6 separate regions of the Homo sapiens genome follow, and regions 1, 3, 4, 5 and 6 are each linked to region 2. Evidence: promoter capture Hi-C in human tissues and cell types (Jung and others, 2019). All regions are on one chromosome and are shown on one strand. The core of a region is centred on a gene start or on the middle of the fragment in contact, and the rest is flanking DNA. Distances in the headings are between cores, read along the strand shown.

The links. The method cuts DNA at HindIII sites, captures the fragments that hold promoters and counts their contacts. A contact is called where the count stands out against the background at its distance.
Region 1: a contact is called between a fragment that was not itself captured here and the fragment with the promoter of EBF2 in region 2, in 1 of the 25 tissues and cell types used here (bladder).
Region 3: a fragment that was not itself captured here is called in contact with the fragment with the promoter of EBF2 in region 2 in 2 of the 25 tissues and cell types used here (H1 embryonic stem cells and heart right ventricle).
Region 4: a fragment that was not itself captured here is called in contact with the fragment with the promoter of EBF2 in region 2 in 1 of the 25 tissues and cell types used here (H1 embryonic stem cells).
Region 5: a contact is called between a fragment that was not itself captured here and the fragment with the promoter of EBF2 in region 2, in 2 of the 25 tissues and cell types used here (bladder and mesendoderm cells).
Region 6: a contact is called between a fragment that was not itself captured here and the fragment with the promoter of EBF2 in region 2, in 2 of the 25 tissues and cell types used here (H1 embryonic stem cells and neural progenitor cells).

The regions. Positions count from the first base shown.
Region 1 is chr8:26,309,343-26,312,708 of GRCh38, forward strand. All of the region lies in intron 2 of PPP2R2A (protein phosphatase 2 regulatory subunit Balpha), which reads left to right. Among named protein-coding and RNA genes, the nearest start is that of PPP2R2A, 20 kb to the left of the region's middle. The HindIII fragment of the contact is 4,201 bases long and covers 1-3,366 here.
Region 2 is chr8:26,043,671-26,047,091 of GRCh38, forward strand. EBF2 (EBF transcription factor 2) reads right to left here and starts at 1,743. Exons shown (of 16, transcript NM_022659.4): 1 at 1,059-1,743. The coding sequence starts at 1,189. The HindIII fragment of the contact is 15,996 bases long and covers 1-3,421 here.
Region 3 is chr8:25,630,413-25,633,623 of GRCh38, forward strand. The region is part of intron 1 of LOC107986933 (a long non-coding RNA gene); the gene reads left to right. Among named protein-coding and RNA genes, the nearest start is that of CDCA2, 170 kb to the left of the region's middle. The HindIII fragment of the contact is 3,835 bases long and covers 45-3,211 here.
Region 4 is chr8:25,657,926-25,661,298 of GRCh38, forward strand. All of the region lies in intron 1 of LOC107986933 (a long non-coding RNA gene), which reads left to right. Among named protein-coding and RNA genes, the nearest start is that of CDCA2, 200 kb to the left of the region's middle. RefSeq lists an enhancer at 2,073-2,759. The HindIII fragment of the contact is 3,456 bases long and covers 323-3,373 here.
Region 5 is chr8:25,743,545-25,747,038 of GRCh38, forward strand. All of the region lies in intron 1 of LOC107986933 (a long non-coding RNA gene), which reads left to right. Among named protein-coding and RNA genes, the nearest start is that of CDCA2, 290 kb to the left of the region's middle. The HindIII fragment of the contact is 6,087 bases long and covers 1-3,494 here.
Region 6 is chr8:25,678,776-25,682,129 of GRCh38, forward strand. The region is part of intron 1 of LOC107986933 (a long non-coding RNA gene); the gene reads left to right. The region is part of intron 2 of LOC105379333 (a long non-coding RNA gene); the gene reads left to right. Among named protein-coding and RNA genes, the nearest start is that of CDCA2, 220 kb to the left of the region's middle. RefSeq lists an enhancer at 759-1,332. The HindIII fragment of the contact is 3,399 bases long and covers 260-3,354 here.

The DNA of each region.
Region 1 (3,366 bases), core at 74-2,573, 270 kb after region 2:
AACAGTGGGCTTAAAATGTTTAGTAAACAGTGCTATAAACAGATGTGCTCTCAGCTAGGCTTTTTTCTAGAGTACAGGCAGAGTAGATTTGGGCCCTAGAATTCAGAATGGTCAATGAGCATTGGCCTCAACTTAAAGTCACCCAGCTGCATTAGCCCCTAACAAAAGAGCCTGTTCTTTGAAGCTTTGAAGCCAGGCATCAGCTTCTCCTTTCCAGCTATGAGAGTCCTAGGTGGTATCTTCTTTGAATACAGGGCTGTTAATACAGAGCTGTTTAGTTGACTTTGAAAATCTGTTGTTTAGTGTAGTCACCTTTATCAATTAAATTATCTTCCTTTCACTTGAACACTTAAGAGGCCCATAGGGTAATTGTCCTAATTTCAGTATTGTGTCTCCAGGAGGCCCAAGGAGGGAGAGAGAGAGGGGAACTGCCAGTAGGTGGAGCAGTCAGAACACGCAGCATTTTTAAGAATTACATTTGCTGTCTTATGGAGGTGCTTCATGGCATTCCAAAACAATTACAATAGTAATATCAAAGATCATTGGTCACAGATGACCATAACAGGTATAATGATGGAAAAATTGAAGTTTTGCAAGAATTACCAAAGTGTGACACAGAGACACAAAGCTAGCACATGTTGGAAAAATGGTGCCATTCGGCCAGGCGTGGTGGCTCACCCCTGTAATCCTAGCACTTTGGGAGGCTGAGGCGGGCGGATCACGAGGTCAAGATATCTAGACCATCTTGGCCAACATGATGAAATCCCGCCTCTACTAAAAATACAAAAATTAGCTGGGTGTGGTGGCGTACGCCTGTAGTCCCAGCTACTCGGGAGGCTGAGGCAGGAGAATCATTTGAACCCGGGAGGCGGAGGTTGCAGTGAGCCGAGATCACACCACTGCACTACAGCCTGGGCGACTGAGCAAGACTCCCTCTCAAAAAAAAAAAAAAAAAAACACAGTGTCTATGAAGCACAATAAAAGTATGCCTGTATAATCTCGCAATTTTTATATTATATCTGTTAATATTTGGGCATAGATCTTTCCAGCATATAGTTCTTTTTCCACAGCAAATATGTATTTTCAAAACTGTTATCAGACGTACAGTTTTGTATTATGTTTTTTTCCAGTTAACATATATGAGAAGATAAATGGCTGTATGATATTTAATTGGATCTCTAATGTATTTCATTTAGACATTTAGATTGTTTATAATGTTTGCTATTGTAAAGATCATGATGAACATCCTTGTGAGAATCTTATTGCTTTAGGATATATTATCTGGAAATGGGATTGCTGGGTCGAAAGGTGTGATTTTTTTTTTCCTTTTTTTTTTTTTAATGGCTTATGGTATTTATTGCCAAATCACCATAGAAAGTTGGTGTTGATTTTTCACTTCCTCCAATAGTGAATGGGAGTGGCCATTTCCTGACCTCTTGACAATACCTGGCACAATATTCACCATTCAGAAAAATCTTTTCCAGTTATTTGTTTGAGCACGTTCAAATGTTGGAGCCTTTTTGTGTTCTTTGTCTAGTTTTCTTTGGTGATGCTTTTTTAAATTTATTTGTAGTATCACAGCCCTTTTCCCCTTCTGAATCATACATTGTAGTGGAGGAATGTTGGAGGGAAGCTCAAAGAAATAATTTGGGTCTGTATTACATGGGAAAGACTTCCTAAATGAAGTGGATTTTTTTCCTTTTTCTTTTTTCTTTTTTGTTCAAGCAAAGGAAACCAGAGAGTAAGGAAACAAACATTTGAGAATTGCTGTGTTTTAGTTTTCTTATCTGTAAATGGGAATAATAGTACTTGTCTTTTTATTTAGAGGATTAAATATACATGAATGCTTAGTTTTGGCACATAGTAAGCCTCAGAACATTTAATTGATGTAGTTATTTTTCTATCTGATACCCAATTAACAGAATTAACAGTTGATAGCAGAAGAATAAAAGCCTATTCCGGTCCACAAATTGAGATCAACTAGTTTTTGAGGTTTTGGGCACATTTTAGGCACTTCCAATAAATATACGTTACATTAATGACTAACATTTCAGCTTGGTTGAGTTAGGCATTTGGTAAAACTAGGGAGAGATTAGTTTCCCAGCTTCATCAGAATTGGGATTAGTTTAGGGTCTGGCACTTTGACTATTAATTTGACTAATTTAAAATTATTGTGCTGAGCCGGGCACGGTGGTGCAAGCATGTAATCCCAGTTAATTGGGAGGCTGAGGTGAGAGGAGCACTTGAAGCCACGAGTTCAAAGCTGTTGTGCACAGTGATCATGCCTGTGAACAACCACTGCACTCCAGTCTGGGCAACGTAGCATGACCCTGTCTCTGAAACAATGAACGAAAAATAATGTGTGACAACAGAAATTCAAGCTTCTTTTTTTCTCTCTTGTTTTCCCTTTTTTCTCCAGTTCCTCCAGTGTTTTATTCTTCCCTATAATTATATATTCTGCATCTTCCCTCAAGAGTAATATAATTGGGTGGGGTGGGGTGCACCTAGAACATGCAGGAGGGTCCAAAGCACCCTTCACTATTGGTGTCAGTTTCTCATAGCAGGGAGGGATGGAGTTTGGGAACATCTGAAGGGATGGTGTCAGGCACACGGAGGCTCTAAAACACCCTGCTATTGGCTCCCCTTGCTACCTAGGGCAACGTTGTAAATAGCATATTTTTTACATTATAAATATTTTCTCTTTCTCCTCGTTCTTCTACTCACTTGTTTGTATGATGATCTGAATCTTTTATCAGAGTTTCAAGTAGGCTGACAAATATATTTAGAGCCCTTGGAAAATTCTCCAGAAGTCTGAAGAGAATAGAAATGGAAAGCAAATGTTATTATACCAGTGAACATGCTTAATTCCCCTCAATTCCTTATTCAGAAGTGTGCTGTTTTGTTAAAAGAGTTGTATTGGCCTGATAATCAACACTTCTCTAGCTTTATGTGCATGTGAATGTCCTGGGAATCTGGTTAAAATACAGATGATGATGGTGCATTTAGGTCTTGTGGGGGATCCTGTGATTTTTGCATTTCTGATCAGCTCCCAGTGATGCTGGTGTTGCTGCTGGTGGTCCCCAGACTATACTTTGAGTGGCAAGGCAGCTTATAGCCTCTCTTTAAGGGTAAGGGAGACCTAGTAGCTTAATTTTTTTACTCAGCATTTTTGACAGAATAAATAGATCTATTGTGCTGTTCTCACATCAGTTAACATTTCTTCTGTAAATGAATAAAATACCTCTTTGGGAGTTTTGCACTAGCTCTTAAAAGAGCAGATTGCATCATACTGCAACACGTTAGCCATCTCTAGTTGTTACTTTAAATTTGTATTTCAATTTCAAGTTTGGCTCGGTCTAAGACCTT
Region 2 (3,421 bases), core at 493-2,992:
TACCCGGGACACCTGGCCAGTTTGGGAAAGGGATCATTTCTCCGTGTGATGTTGGCACTTAAATGTGGGTGGCCAGGAGGGCAGCAGGGGAAGCGAGGGTAGTGGAAGAAGTTCATCGGCTCTTTGGGGGTAGAAGGGCTGCCTCTCTCGCAGACAAGGACCTGGAGGCCACAAATCCCAACTCAGTAGTGGTGATGAGAGAGTGGGACCGTAATGTCTTCGTAGGGTGGCACCCCGGACATGGTATTTACTATCCCAGCACGCAGACGCCTAAACACAAAGTCAACTTCAGGGATCCGCAAAACCAGAGGCTGGCGATCCCTGAGCCAGTCTAGCTGCTGGTGGCCTTTTCTCGCCTCTTTCTTCTTCCGCAACTCTTTCTACTGTGACTCAGTATTTTCTCTTCTTTTAAATCTCTTCTTTTCTCCAGTTCCCTAGCTCCGTTCGTCTGGCTCACTGTTTTATCTTTGAGCCGGGACCCTCCAGCCTGTCCCCCCTCCCAGAGCTCCCGGCCGCCTCGTCTTCCCGGGCAGCCGCTCCGGCTTTTCCCGCTCCCCTCGCCGCCGCCACCCTCTGGCCGCCGGCCTCCCAGGCTCCAGGAATCGCCCAGCAAGATGCGGGAGGTAGGCGCTCGCAGGCGGCGTGGCGAAGCCAAGAGTGGCCAGGAAGCCGGCTTTCCTCCCGCGCCGCCACTGCCAGCGCCGGTGTTCACGCTCCGTTCGGGGCCAGGCCGGCTCGGCTTGCAGGACTAGGGGCTGAGCTGGGAGATGTTGGGGGCTACTTTATTTTTCCTTGCAAAGAGTGGACTGTGGTAAAGGAGAGGGAGAGAAACGCCTACGACCCAGGCAGTTCAGGAACTCGAGTGCCGGCTGCCGGGTGAGCGTTCGCCTGACTGCAGCGATCTGCTTGCCCGAGGGCGAGCCCCAGCGCGCAGGGCCTGGGCGACAGATGGGGGGACAGGGAGAGAGAAAGGCACGGGGTGCGCGGGGGGGGTGCACACGGAGAGACAGACCGTAAGAGCGAGAGACAGCATAATAATTGCGCGGCCGTGTCGTTACCTCTGCGCGGCGACATTAGCGTCCACCACTCCGACATTCCGGACCCAGGACCTGACCGAATCCATCTCCGCGCCCAGCGATTTCTCTTTCAGAGTTGGTCCTCTTCCTAAAGTATCTTGAATTCCAAACATTTAAAAAGTCTGATCCTCTACTGTCGCTTTAAAAGTAAGAGTTACAACACAGTCCTGACTGTTCCCAACGTTGCCAGCAAATCGTCTCCTCCAAAGCAATCCAAGAAAAGGGATCAAGTGCCCAAGTTTGAGTCTTAGAAAAAAAAAAAAGATAACCCGTCCTTTGCTTCACTGGCGAGGTGCGGACTGATGTAGTCAAAGTTTGGGTTCTTATCCTCCGCAAGTTCAGATCTGCCGCCTCAGCCACTCCACCCTAGGTCGCTCGCATCCTTCCAGCTGCAGTGCTGCCTCCTGAAAGTGATCACAATTTAGAAGCATCACCTGTTCTGGGAGAAACTGGAGGAAATTGATGGCTGCCTAATCTCTCCCCTTCCTCCAGGTCCCCCCTCCCTGCTCCTCCCCACCGTTCCAATTTAGAAAAAAAAAAAATCCCCAACAGGATCAGTTGTAAAAAGAAGGGGAAGACCTGGAGCCGAGAGGAGGCGGTGGCTGCGAGCGCCACGGAGCCCGGCTGCAGCCGCGCGCGGGCCCCATGAATGGGTTACTACGGCCCTGGCTGCGGGAGGCGGAGCTGCGGCCCGATAAGGAGCCTCATTTGCATGGACGCGCGGGATTGGCCGGCGCCTGGCAAGCCGGGCCGACGTCCTCCGGCGGCGCGCGCCACGCTCTGCGTTGCCGGGACTCCGGGAGGTGAAAGGGGACAGAAAGCTGCGGGCGTCGAGTCCTAGCACGAACCCCGTGTGCTTGCGCAGGATTGGGGGGCCCCCACACCCTGCACTGACTTAGGGTAGCAGGTCTCTGCGGGCTGGGGACGCAGGGGTTCGGCCTGGCTGCGGGAAGCCTCCCTGGATCCTGCCTCTAGATGTAGGCTTTTGTAGCCTGCCGGGAGGCACGTTCGTTCCCGGGGTTCGGATCTGTGTGCATGCTTGTGAGCGTGGCCACATGTGCTTATGTTTTGCGCAAACGTCCCCCAGAGCACCCAGCTCCCTGAATGGCTCCCCAGGTCTCCTGGAGTTCCATGGTGATATCAGATGTTGTGTGCGGCTTGCACGTTGCTGAGAGTGGAGAACATATGAAAGAAGGCGGGGGATGGGGTGGGGCGGACAAGCGAGGGGCAAGTGCTGCTCAAATACAGTGCTGGGGAAAACGGTCCAGGACCTAAGGAAAACACCCGCGGGCGGGCGGGCGCGAGCGGCAGTCGCACCCGTGTGGAGGAGAGGTTGCTGACAGATCGAGGCGGGCTGAGTGCGCGAGCGGCCGGGGAGTATTCCCGCGGGTCCTCCGGTTCCCTCCCCACCTCTCCGTTCCCGAAGCCCCCGGTAGTGGGCGGGGAGGGACGGGGGAGTCGTGGAAACTTCGCCCACCGCGCGCGGTCGCCGCGGTGCTGGCCGCGGGCTGGTGGCCGGCAGGCGGTGGCAGCAGCCTCACCGAACAGCTGAAACCCTAGACGGTTTTTTAACTGCGCGGGGCTGCTCGCGGTGCCTATTAAACATCCTCCTGGCTGGGTGTCATTTTCTTGCTTCTCCTTTTGTATTCTGATCTGCGCATAGATCTGCTGCTGCTGAAATCTAGAACACCAGCGCGAAAACAGATTTGAAGACAATGAATGCAAATCTGTGCTCAAAGACCATCTGCCGTGGAGGAGACAATCAGCTGTTCGTAGTTCGAGCGATTGCGCCCCAGTCTCCCGGTCTCATTACGGGGAGGGCATTTGCGAGCGCCTGGACTGCGTTCAGGGCACTTTCTCCCCTCTTGGGTCTCAGATTTGAGAGACCAGATCCCTTAGGTGTAGGTGAGCGCTCGCAAATGAACTGCTAGAGTTTGCCGCTAGAGGACACAGCGCCTTGCAACTGGTTTGCCTAGGCTGACAGGAAGCTTGCACTTCAAGAAAACTCGGCTCTCTCGAGAAAGGGACCGGTGCGCGCCTCCACCTCCCCAAGGGACAAACCGCGGCACCACGCTGCGTGCGCGGGATTGCGACTAGGAAGTGCTGGTCCGAACTGCGGAGATTCGCTTGAAAACGGATAGGGGGTTAGGGAGTTTGCGGGGCGGGTGCACGGACCGTCTCTGCACAGGCCCCGGGATCCAGGGACTGGGGTCATTGATTTGGGGGAAGGTAGAGAAGGTAAACCCCCCGCCTCTGGGTTGTGTTGACTGTGGTACCCCGACCCCAGAGCTCTGGCTTGGTCCTCCCTGTTGGACTGGAAGGGGCGGGAGAGCCATACAGGGCGA
Region 3 (3,211 bases), core at 712-3,211, 410 kb before region 2:
GACTGAAAGGATTCAGCTGGGTGGCTCTCTCATTGTGTTTTCATGCCTGTTAAGATGTCAAAAATACTTGGTTATATGACTCTCTTTGCTTCGTTTACTGAAAGGAGAGGCTTGGGAAAGGGTCCTTTCCCATTTTTCTTTTACCCTCGGAATAATAGCCCCTTCTCAGGACGAAGGCTCTCTAAAGCCCTATTCTCTGAAGTATATTAGAGAAGGAAGTGTAAACATAAGATCCTTTTGGTATTTTTATTAAAAAATAAAAACAAAACCCAGGATGGGATAGACTTACCCTTTTCTCCTCTGAGTAATTAACTTGTCTCTCCCCTACATGGGGACAGCAGACCCAAGTATTTTATACTTCTCTTATCTCATCATTTCAAGCTCAGAGTTTTCTACCACTGTTATTTCCCAGTCTCTCTTTGGAATCTATAATGATAGGAATTCTTCCGTGCTTACTCTGTAGTCTGCACAATGTTTTGCAGCCCAAAATAGATGCAAAAAAGTGTGTTCCATTGACTCGTGTTGAATCATATAGGTAAAAAAACCAAGATACTTGTCACCACCTTACATTTGGGGAAACCAAGGCAAGGAATGGGAAAGTGACTTCACTGACGTGCAAAATAAAGGCTAGGCATGCTAACAGAGCTAAAGGTTTCCATCTTAAAGTCCTCGCTGTTCCCCACACGATGATGATGACAGTTGCATGTGTGGGGAGCGACAAACACGCTTTGCCAGGCCCACCAGATGGGCTTGGAAGCCAAGTCAGAGAGAGGCATTTCACTCTCCACATGTAATCGGCATTTACCAGCATTTGCTTACAACAAGAAACATTAAACAGTTTTCCACATTTCCTCTAAATGAATGGGACTCCGCAGGAAAACCCTAAAGGGAAGTGTCTGAGAAATCGGTGGCAGAGGAATTTCACTATGAGGAGAGCGAGCCAGTTCATTCTGTTTGCTTGTTAATAAGTTCTGTGTCGCCAGCTCCAGGGGGAACGGCCTCTTGAATAGCTGGCGGGGAAACGCATTCAAGGGCTCTGCTTGATGAAAATAGGGAATAACGGGAAGGGAGAGGAAGGGAAATAACTTCAGAAAGGATTGGAAAGCTTGTCCTCTGGAATGAAAACAAGCTGCTGCTAATTTGACTAAGTTACTGCTGAGTCTGGGTGCGAGCTGAGCGGCAGCTGAGCCGTGCAGGAAGCTGCAGCCCTGCTTTTCTGGCTCCTCTTTGCAATTTATATGCAGCCAATGTTACGTCTCATTCTTTCAGATAAGGCTGCATTTAGAATCCAGTGTGTTTCAAAAGACAAGCTGCAGAGGCTGGGGTGTGTGTATGACCTGGTTAGAGAGGTGGTTGATACTGATTGTGGATCAAGAAATAGATGAGAAATGTTTCCCTATGTGAAGCATTATCTAGAAGCAATACATGGCCGTGTCGCTCTCCTTAAGGAACATTCATTTGATCATCTTGATGCAGGGCAGGTGAGCCCCAAAGTGGGGCTTAGCCCACGAGGTTTCTTGGCTTCACCCAGGAAAGAATTTAAGGGTGAGCTAGTGGTAGGGTAGAAGAAAACAGTTTTATTCAAGTGGCAGCGTTACAAGTCCATGACTGTTTCCTGCACAGCAGGGCTGCCCCGTTGGCAGTGTGTTGACGGTAGCAGCTCAGGGTAGTTTTGCAGTTATATTTATACCTACTTTTAGTTACATGCAGATTAAGGGGCAGTACATGCAGAAATTTTTAGGGAAGGGGTAATAACTTTTAGATGTCAAGTCATTGCCATGGAAAGGGGCAGTAACTCTCAGATGTTGCCATGACAATGGTAAACTCACATGGCACACTGGTAGGTGTGTCTTATGGAAAACCACTTCCACCTTATCCCTGTTTTAGCTAATCCTCAATTTGGTCAGGTGTCCGAGCTCTGCCTCTGGAGTCAAGTCCTACCTCCTGCCTCAATCTGGCCAACAAATATTTATATCTGTGCTGTCCTGGGACGTGAAGCCAATTGAGTTGTGTACCTGGTTCTCAAAGACACTGATGAAGACAGAAAATAAATAGAAAATCATGATACAAGATATATGCCGTTCAGGGTACAGATTTGCATAGGTTCTTAAGGAAGGGGTACCTGTCCCAGGCTGAGGAAGATGGAGAAGGCAGGGTATGGAAAATCTGCCTAGAGGATGGGGTTCCTGAAGGAGAATTAGGAGTGAGTTAGCTGGTTTTCCTTCCACAATAAAAGGTGTGAGATTTAAGTACTCTGGGACCCACTGAAATTGTCTGCAAATTGGTGTGTTATGTTATGTTATGTTGTGTTATGTTACGTTATGTACATCTGCCTTTCTCCGGAGGGGACACATAACTTATCAGATTCTTAGAGGCCTAAGACCTTTTCTATCCCTAATTAATGATTTATGTTAACTGTGCAATACTTCTGAATATTTTACTGATGTCCAAATAATAGACATTCTATTTTCGTTTCTATGTGTATATATTTGCTTCTATATGTGTGGAACTATAGCAAACATTTATGTAGTTAAATCTTTGTGCACGTGTTTTCTTTTTAAATTTTAGAAACGTTATTGCGTCATCAAAGTATGTGAACACTTTAAAAACCTTTGGGTACATATTGTCAAAATTCCCTCTCCAAATTTATACAGGCTTATTACCAACAGAGGTGGAGTACCATTTCCCTGAACTCTTGCCAATGCTATTTGTATTGCCTTTTAATTAAGAAATATTTTAAATATAAATTGATACAGAAAATAGATGCCTATGAGCTTATTTACCTATATTTAATATATATGACAATTTGCCATAGTGTTTTTCATATCTTAATAAAGAAATAAAGTGTGTGTGATAGGGACAGCAGAAGCCCACTCTTTCCTTCCCATCTCATTCATCTCCTTCCCTCCCCCAATACCCAACATTTTTTCCTTTTCTTTCCTTCCTTTTGTAGAGAAAGGGTCTCACGATGTTGCCCAGGCTGGTCTTGAACTCCTGGGCTCAAACAATCCTCCAGCTTTGGCCTCCCAAAGTGCTGGGATTATAGGAGTGTGCCACTGTGCCTGGCCCCCAATATATATGTTTTTCCTAATCACTATACTACCGGGGATTGGCCCCCAAGGGTTTTTAAGTGGATATTTTCATACTTTTACCACTCACAGATGTCTCCAACAATATATAATAATGTACTTCTTAAAATAGCTATCATACT
Region 4 (3,373 bases), core at 801-3,300, 390 kb before region 2:
GTGTCTCTATTTCCTTCATTTCTGCTCTGATTTTAGTTATTTCTTGTCTTCTGCTAGCTTTTGAATGTGTTTGCTCTTGCTTTTCTAGTTCTTTTAATTGTGATGTTAGGGTGTCAATTTTAGATCTTTCCTGCTTTCTCTTGTGGGCATTTAGTGCTATAAATTTCCCTCCACACACTGCTTTGAATGTGTCCCAGAGATTCTGGTATGTTGTGTCTTTGTTCTCGTTGGTTTCAAAGAACATCTTTATTTCTGCCTTCATTTTGTTATGTACCCAGTAGTCATTCAGGAGCAGGTTGTTCAGTTTCCATGTAGTTGAGCGGTTTTGAGTGAGTTGCTTAATCCTGAGTTCCAGTTTGATTGCACTGTGGTCTGAGAGACAGTTTGTTATAATTTCTGTTCTTTTACATTTGCTGAGGAGAGCTTTACTTCCAACTATGTGGTCAATTTTGGAATAGATGTGGTGTGGTGCTGAAAAAAATGTGTATTCTGTTGATTTGGGGTGGAGAGTTCTGTAGATGTCTATTAGGTCCACTTGGTGCAGAGCTGAGTTCAATTCCTGGGTCTGTCTCATTGATCTGTCTAATGTTGACAGTGGGGTGTTAAAGTCTCCCATTATTATTGTGTGGGAGTCTAAGTCTCTTTGTAAGTCACTCAGGACTTGCTTTATGAATCTGGGTGCTCCTGTATTGGGTGCCTATACATTTAGGATAGTTAGCTCTTCTTGTTGAATTGATCCCTTTATCATTATGCAGTGGCCTTCTTTGTCTCTTTTGATCTTTGTTGGTTTAAAGTCTATTTTATCAGAGACTAAGATTGCAACCCCTGCCTTTTTTTGTTTTCCATTTGCTTGGTAGATCTTCCTCCATCCTTTTATTTTGAGCCTATGTGTGTCTCTGCACGTGAGATGGGTTTCCTGAATACAGCACACTGATGGGTCTTGACTCTTTATCCAATTTGTCAGTCTGTGTCTTTTAATTGGAGCATTTAGTCCATTTACATTTAAGGTTAATATTGTTATGTGTGAATTTGATCCTGTCATTATGATGTTAGCTGGTTATTTTGCTGGTTAGTTGATGCAGTTTCTTCCTAGCCTCGATGGTCTTTACAATTTGGCACGATTTTGCAGTGGCTGGTACCTGTTGTTCCTTTCCATGTTTAGTGCTTCCTTCAGGAGCTCTTTTAGGGCAGGCCTGGTGGTGACAAAATCTCTCAGCATTTGCTTGTCTGTAAAGTATTTTATTTCTCCTTCACTTATGAAGCTTAGTTTGGCTGGATATGAAATTCTGGGTTGAAAATCCTTTTCTTTAAGAACGTTGAATATTGGCCCCCACTCTCTTCTGGCTTGTAGAGTTTCTGCCAAGAGATCCGCTGTTAATCTGATGGGCTTCCCTTTGTGGGTAACCCAACCTTTCTCTCTGGCTGCCCTTAACATTTTTTCCTTCATTTCAACTTTGGTGAATCTGACAATTATGTATCTTGGAGTTGCTCTTCTTGAGGAGTATCTTTGTGGCATTCTCTGTATTTCCTGAATCTGAATGTTGGCCTGCCTTGCTAGATTGGGGAAGTTCTCCTGGTAATATCCTGCAGAGTGTTTTCCAACTTGGTTCCATTCTCCCCATCACTTTCAGGTACACCAATCAGACGTAGATTTGGTCTTTTCACATAGTCCCATAATTCCTGGAGGCTTTGTTCATTTCTTTTTATTCTTTTTTCTCTAAACTTCCCTTCTTGTTTCATTTGATTCATTTCATCTTCCATCACAGATACCCATTCTTCCAATTGATCACATCGGCTCCTGAGGCTTCTGCATTCTTCACGTACTTCTCGAGCCTTGGCTTTCAGCTCCATCAGCTCCTTTAAGCACTTCTCTATATTGGTTATTCTAGTTATATTCATCTAAATTTTTTTCAAAGTTTTTAACTTCTTTGCCTTTGGTTTGAATTTCCTCCTGTAGCTTGGAGTAGTTTGATCGTTTGAAGCCTTCTTCTCTCACCTCATCAAAGTCATTCTCCGTCCAGCTTTGTTCCATTGCTGGTGAGGAACTGCATTCCTTTGGAGGAGGAGAGGCGCTCTGCTTTTTAGAGTTTCCAGTTTTTCTGCTCTGTTTTTTCCCCATCTTTGTGGTTTTATCTACTTTTGGTCTTTGATGATGGTGATGTACAGATGGGTTTTTGGTGTGGATGTCCTTTCTGTTTGTTAGTTTTCCTTCTAATGGACAGGACCCTCAGCTACAGGACTGTTGGAATACCCTGCCGTGTGAGGTGTCAGTCTGCCCCTACTGGGGGGTGCCTCCCAGTTAGGCTCCTCGGGGGTCAGGGGTCAGGAACCCATTTGCAGAGGCAGTCTGCCTGTTCTCAGATCTCCAGCTGCATGCTGGGAGAACCACTGCTCTCTTCAAATCTGTCAGACAGGGACATTTAAGTCTGCAGAGGTTACTGCTTTCTTTTTGTTTGTCTGTGCCCTTCCCCAAGAGGTGGAGCCTACAGAGACAGGCAGGCCTCCTTGAGCTGTGGTTGGCTCCACCCAGTTTGAGCTTCCTGGCTGCTTTGTTTACCTAAGCAAGCCTGGGCAATGGCGTGTGCCCCTCCCCCAGCCTCGCTGCCGCCTTGCAGTTTGATCTCAGACTGCTGTGCTAGCAATCAGTGAGACTCCGTGGGTGTAGGACCCTCTGAGCCAGGTGCGGGATATAATCTCCTTGTGCAGCATTTATTAAGCCCATCGGAAAAGTGCAGTATTAGGGTGGGAGTGACCCGATTTTCCAGGTGCCGTCTGTCACTGCTTTCTTTGACTAGGAAAGGGAACTCCCTGACCCCTTGTGCTTCCTGAGTGAGACAGTGCCTCACCCTGCTTCGACTCGCGCATGGTACACTACACCCACTGTCCTGCACCCACTGTCTGGCACTCCCTAGTGAGATGAACCCGGTACCTCAGATGGAAATGCAGAAATCACCCGTCTTCTGCGTCACTCACACTGGGAGCTGTAGACTGGAGCTCTTCCTATTCAGCCATCTTGGCTGCCTCACTATGCCATTTTTAAAATTATTTTTTGTACAGACGGGGTTTCGCCATGTTGCTTAGACTGGTCTTGAACTCCTGAGCTCAACTGATCTGCCTGCCTCAGCCTCCCAAAGTGTGGGGATTTCAGGTGTAATTATGCCATTTTATATCAGGGACTTGAGCATCTTCAGACTTTGGTATCCATGGGGTTCCTGGAACTGATCCTCCACTGATACTTAGGGATGACTGTACTCTGTTTTTTACTAATGTATTTGTTCATCATCTGTGTCTACCACAAGAATATAAGCTTCATAAGAGCAGAGAGTTTGCGGCCTTTTGTTCACTATTGTGTCCCTGTGCCAAGAATAAAGGA
Region 5 (3,494 bases), core at 265-2,764, 300 kb before region 2:
TCCCAAAATAAATATATATTTTGGCTAGATCTATCATCAGTGCTTAAATTGAGTACATAAATACTGTTCACAGCTGAGCCACATAGAATACTATTATTTTTTCCTTTCTTGAACAAGCATTTGTTTTCCCTAGATTTACTAAGTGTTTTGTTTTGTTGATGTACTGCGTTTTCTATGGTCTTATCTCTGATTCAGCCTCAAATTCTCTTTCAATATGTCTCAATGCATTAAGTATTTTTAGCAATTGTATCTACTTGGAAACATTACTGCAGAAACCTTCTTCTCTATTTAGTTAGTTCCTGACCGTTGGTTGCAAGCCTATTGTTAGCTGCCTTCCTGGGGCTATTCTTTGTTGTATTCTAGGGGTTTCTTTTATTATATAACACCTCTCTCATATTGAATTCCTCATTACGTAAGCCCAGTGTCTACATCTTTATTAGCTGATCTTCTTGTTTTAAAAACGGAGCAACTTTTCTAGTACCCTTCAGTAAACGTGTATATGTTGAGAACTTACATATCTGAAAACATATTCAGCTTATCTTTATCCTGAGTTAATAGTTTGATCAGTTATAGAGTTTAGGTTGGAAAAAATTTTTCCTTATTATTTTGATGGCATTCCTCCAGTCTTAGTGTTAAAATGTCCAGGGCCATTCTGGCCCGTGAATACTCCTGATTTTTCTTTTTAGAAGCTTTTAAGATCTTCTGTTTTTCCCAGTGTTCTAAAACTTCACGGTGGTGTGATCACAAAAATAAATGTTTTATTTATTGTGCTAGTGCTGGGATTAAACATATTCTCCAGTCCTGAGATTCAGTGAGCCACCTCTTGGTAGCTACTTTTAACTGAGTAGTTTAACGTTCTTCTTCCATGATACTGAAGACACACTTCTTTTAACAGCTGTTATGACATTGTTTTTTAGTTAGTTGTGTATATCTATACCATATAGCATTACAGGCCCCATTATGGAAACCCAATGGAGTTCTGTTGTATAAATGAAAAACAATTACTTATGATCTTCTGCCTGCATGGGCATAGAAGCAAAATATGTAATATGAATGTGAAAAATTAATAAATTATATTGAATTTTTAAAACATACCACTACAGAGAATTCACAGTTTGCTATACATTCTGTAGCTTTTTGTAATCCATGAGTTAGTCATCAACAGGAACAAATTCTGAACTGCCTTTTGTAACCACTTGAAACTTGAAAGGAGAGAAATAAAAATGGTTTGAGGTTCTGGAGGTTTCTAAATACCTTCAAAACCCCATTGTTTGTGACAGTCAGGATGTTTATGATCAAGGAAAAAGGGAAGTGTTCTGGAGACATGCCCTATTTCCATATTTGTGGTGCCCAAAACAAAGATAAAAGTGGTGGCCCACATATGTCTAAATAGTTACAATTTATAACCCAAGCTTTAAAAATATTAAACAAAATTTGCCCTAGCAGATTTGGAAGGCTAGGTTGCATTTTAGAGTTCTGGGATTTCTTGGCAGCCCTGGAAGAACCAACCCTCAGCCACCAACTTGGCTCTCTTATCTCCTTACCTTCCCCCAGATATTTCTGGTCTTTGTGGCACCCTGTTTGCACATATACAGACACATTAACATGATAGCCACATGGCCAAGCTCCATTCACATGCTCTGCAAATAACTGCCCTTTGACCACCCCTTGGGGAAAGGATAAGGGCATTGGTGAGTCAGTTACCACTTGGGAGGACAGTCATGGGTCAGAGGCTGTACATGCCCTGGAAGTGAATGAGGGGCCATTTGGGAAAGGAATTCCCATGGAGAGTAGGCATGTCACCTTGGCTCTGGGGACTCCTCCACAGGACAAGGGCCAGAAAGGACTCCGCCAAGTGCAGAGTACAGGGCACAGTCACCTCGTGACTGAGGCTGAAGGTGAGACTCCCAGAGAGTAAGAGAAACCTGACTGTGATCCTTTGGTCAACTTATGGCAAATCTGAGAAGGAAACCCAGGTTGTTCTAAAGGATTGCTTTGGCGTCTAACTGCCTCCCCACCTCCATGAGCAATTCCATTAACCAAAAAGGAAGGAACTGAGCAAGTTCAGTCCTCTTACTTTTATTTTACATTTTAAAAAATAGCGATGGAACATGATCCTTCTTGATAACTTATACTGGTCCAGCCTAGACCATAAATCAGAAAGTAAATGTCTTGTGGTTTGAGGTAAGGCCTAAGCTGACGTTATCCTCCCTTTTATGAAGCCTCAGAGGCTCATAGGCCCAGATTTAGTCTCGGTGGTTTGCATATTAAAAACTGGTTTCTTTCTCTGGGTTTTATGTTACCACTTCAAATTCCTCTAGACAAGAAATAAGGGAAATGGTGGGAAAGCTCAAAGTACAAAGGGTACCCACCCAGGGCTCCAGGAAGGACCCTCAGTGAGACTTTGGAAGCTCAAAATACCTTTGCTTCTGATAGACAGACTTATGAACCTGGAAGAAGTTAAATTTTTTATTTCAAAAACTTTCTAAATAACAGTGTCTTAAATTTAAAGTCCTTCCTCCCTCACCCCACCTCTAGCTGATTTTGTTTTGCTTCAATATTCATAAAGCACCTGTAATTGTTTACATTTCTTCTACTCTTTTTTGCAAGGCCCCAGGAATGCAAAGGGAAAACACACCAACATAGGCAAGCCTTGGGGTAATTTTTAAATAGTCACTGCTCTTTCAATGCATGGTGTTGGGTCATTGCTTAATAAACAATATTCTTTCTCAACTCCTACTCCAGCTCCATTTCCATATACTTTACATTAAGACTGGAAATAAATCAACTGCTAATAGTTTAGCTCCCAGGGTGAGTGGGATGCTGGGTCAGGATGTTCTCTCTCAATGGGAACAAAGGGTCAGCCAGGCAACAGCCTGAATGTTGAAGTCTTGTTTCCTTGCCTCTTTCTAGCAGTTCAGATTTTGGGTTGGGTCTTAGAATCTGTTTCTCCTAGTTGCTCCGGTGTGTACTTGGCATCTCATGGTGATTGACTCTATCTGATCTTGGCCTGCACTCCCCTTACCCACTCAGCTCTGCCTTCACACCCATATCCATCCCATTAACTGGCTTGTTCCTGCCCTTTGGTAGCCATGGTAGTGGGACAGCCCACCGCACACTGCTCAGATTGGTGGCTGAGAAAGGACATTGCCCACCTCTATGTTAGAATAAGGAAATGTTTTCTTTTTCAGTTTTTAAGTTCAGGGGGTACATGTGCAGGTTTGTTACATGGGTACATTGCATGACACCAAGGTTTGGGGTATGAATGATCCCATTGCCCAAGTAGTGAGCATAGTACCCAATAGGTAGTTTTTCAACCCTCTCCCCTCTCCTCCATCTAGTAATTCCCAGTGTCTGTTGTTCCCATCTTTGTCTTCATGTGGACCCCGTGTTTAGCTCCCACTTACAAGCGAGAACATACAGTATATGGTTTTCTGTTCCTGTGTTAATTCGCCTAGGATAATGGCTTCCAGCTGCATCTATGTTGCTGCCAA
Region 6 (3,354 bases), core at 709-3,208, 360 kb before region 2:
ATGGGGAGACTCCAGCAGCTTGGCCTCAGTTGGGCCACAGTCCGTCAAAGAATCTTAATGCCCACATCAAGCTCCATTACATGACTTCTTGGTATGCATTTGACTTTTTTCATCTTCTCCCATGATCACATTTATTTTAATGTCCAGAATCTGCAGCTACACATACCCCCTCTTTGATACTTGTCTTTCTACTTGGCATGGCTCATAGATTGTTTTAATCATGCAATATGATCTCAATCTCTTTAGAAGTAGGCTTAGGTAGAAATAAATCCCCACTGAAATAGTGATTCCACTGTAGCTTTGCTCAGTGGCTTTTAGGAACATTCTCTGTTCAGCGGGACTCATCTTGGCCATGAACTTTTACCTATAGAGCACTAATTCCCATAACTTCCTTCAAGGAGATGTTAACTCAACAAATACTTAATTGAACATTAATACATACCACTGGGTCTCTGGTGTTGCTTATTTTGTTTTGTGATTACTAAACCAGTACCCCTGTATTCAGGGGATGCAGAACATAGAGGAAAGACAGGCAATCCTAGAATTTGTCTCAAGCCAGCTGTGGCAGTGATGTAGGGTAGCTTACACTTCCAGTGTATTCTTCATTTGCTTTTCTCTGATATAAAGTCTGGAAAGATCCGAACACGCCTTCCAAATTCCCCAGCAGTCTGGAGTGACTGTGTTCTGGCTGCAGTTGTTGTCGGTGAAACATCACAGAAGTGAGGCCTCTTTTCTTCTTTCTTCCTCCTCCCTGTTGTGAGTGTGGGGCTTGAGCTTGGCAGCCCTCTCCAAGGCTGGAAGAGAAAGAGAGGGGAGAGCTTGGTTCCTCGGTGCACACTCCAGCCCTGGACTGCTATGCTGATATTGCTTTGTGAGAGAAATAAACCCCTTATCATTTCAGCTGCTGTTTGTTTATGGGAGCTTGCAGGCTAAAGCAGTCTCAACTCACATATCTGCCCTCTCACAGGAGCCTTGGCTGGAGGGATCTTACTTCACTTACATTAGCTCATGAAGCCCATCTAGCATGATCTACATTACAATGGACAGTCTAACCCCCTCCCCGCAGGCATGGGCTGGCAAACTCTAGTTATAAGAGGATCTTTAATTAACAGCAAAAATCACATATGACATTATTTAATAGGCAGACAAGAAATCAGGGATGAATACCACTTCATTCACAACTGGCAGATTCCTTTCTCACTAATCCCTTTCCGCTTTCCATTTTGCTCCCCCCGTGACCCCAGCCTTCTAGCAGAAAATACTCCATTTACCCCTGAGCTGTCGACCTGTTTTCTTCTGCTCCTCTTCAATGTGGCCTTCTTATCTCATTTACCTTGCTCTTCTGTTTCCAGGCCCCCTTGCCTCCTGTGATGCATTTTAGTGAATTGTCTCCTTATTGGTAGCCTGGCTCTATTCTCACTCTCCAAGTCACACAGTAACTCTAGTAAGAAGGGACCAATGCTACATTTCCACAGAAATTGGGATCAAGTGCAGGAAAATACAGCTAAGGAGGAATGATTTGCTCCTGGGAGTAGGAGCTTTGGGTTGGAGAAAGCTTTGTACGGGATTTAATGTTTACATCGAGATGCGGAGGGGACAAAAGGATTTTTTTTTTTTTCCCTCAGAGAACAGAAGAAATAAATTCCAGAGGGAGGAAAGAGTGCAATCTAGATACAGGTGGGTGGCATTTTTGGGGAGCACTGCATAGTCTCTTATAGATAGAGACATGAGGAAGTGGTGTGAGAGTCCCTAAATATGAGGCTGGAAAGAGATATTTGGACCAGAGTTTGAAGAAAACAGAGAAGCTTGAAAGGGTTTTTTTTTTTTTTTTTTTTTTTTTTTTCACAGGTGAATGGTAACCAATCAAATCCTGGAAAGGAAACTAGACAGTGTTTTAATCAGGGAGAAGGAAAGGAACTATATTTAATAAATATAGTTTATTTTCTTTAAATTCACAGATCAATTTTCTTCTTACAATAAGCCTTGATGGTAGATAGATAAAATATTACACTCTCATTTCATAGCAGAATGAAGAACAACCAGTCAGGTAACTACGGGAGCAAGTTCACACCAGAAATGACTGGGGGCTTGGGCAGGGCAGGAGCAATGAGGATGGAGAGGAAGAGATGGATGACAGCTGTTTCAGGAATAAAGCCAATAACAAATGGAAACATTAAAACATCAAGTGGGCTAGTGAGGAAAGTCCAAGATGGGCATGAGCAAAGTCTCAGTGAATGAATTAATAAGACAGAGACGTGTTGTAGAGACAACCAGCAGGACCTGAATAGAGCTGATAGGATGTAGAATGAGTCAGATTAGGTGGGGCTTGATGGTGGTCCCTGCTGTCAAATGTTGCAGATAGGTCAAGGACATGTAAAACTCACAGAAACTTAATGGAGAGATTCTGCAACCTTTAGAAAGCACTCTTCACAAATAGGGCAGAAGCTAAATAGGAAGTGTCTGGAGAGTCAGTGGAAGGTAGGAATGGAGACCAGGCATGGGTGTAGCCTTATTTTCAGCACGTCTGATGGTCAACAAAGAAGAGATGCTGTGGAAAGTTAAGCACATGTGTGAGGGAGAGGGATTAAGCCTGAATAAAGGCCCTTTGAAGGGTTGGAGACCTTGTTGAGAAGTTGAAAGACTGCAAGGTGAATAGAAGGGGAGAGATCCCGGGTACAAGAAGGAAGGGAGGATAAAGATTCTCTGCATTTGTAGAGATTGTTACAGTTTATACAGTGCTTTTGCATTCAATGTCTCATATAGGGATATGTGGGACCAACATCACCACCCATTTGATAGATGGGTAAACTGAGGCTCACAGAGATCAAATGACTTTATTAGAGAGGGGAGACCGAGGATATGAACTCAGGATGCCTGAAACTGGTTAGGATTTTGTTGTTTGTTTTTATTCGTTGCCTTCCACACGAGGGAAAACATGACTTGAAAAACTACCACTTAAGAGTAACACATTTTTGTGGAGAAACACTCCCATTCATTGCCTACTTTGAATTTTCCACCACAATGACCCTGTGAGGTTGGCAGAATCAGCTTTTTTCTCATTCCATTGATAAGCAAACGCAGCCTCAGCAAGGCCAAGCAACTTCCATGATGCCACATAGCTAAGAAATGGCCAAGAAGGGCCTCAGACTCTCATCTTGACTCTTAGATGAACAGTCCGGTCGACAATGAGGCTTCTCCCTGCACTTGTGGATGAGAGGACAGCCTTTCAGCAGTGTGGCAGATAAACAGTGCATCTCCCCCATATTTCTGGTTCTCTGCTCCCTCCTGGAACCTGGAGGGTTGTATATTGCCATGCCCTTGGGTTAGGCATGACCATCTGACTTGCTTTGGACA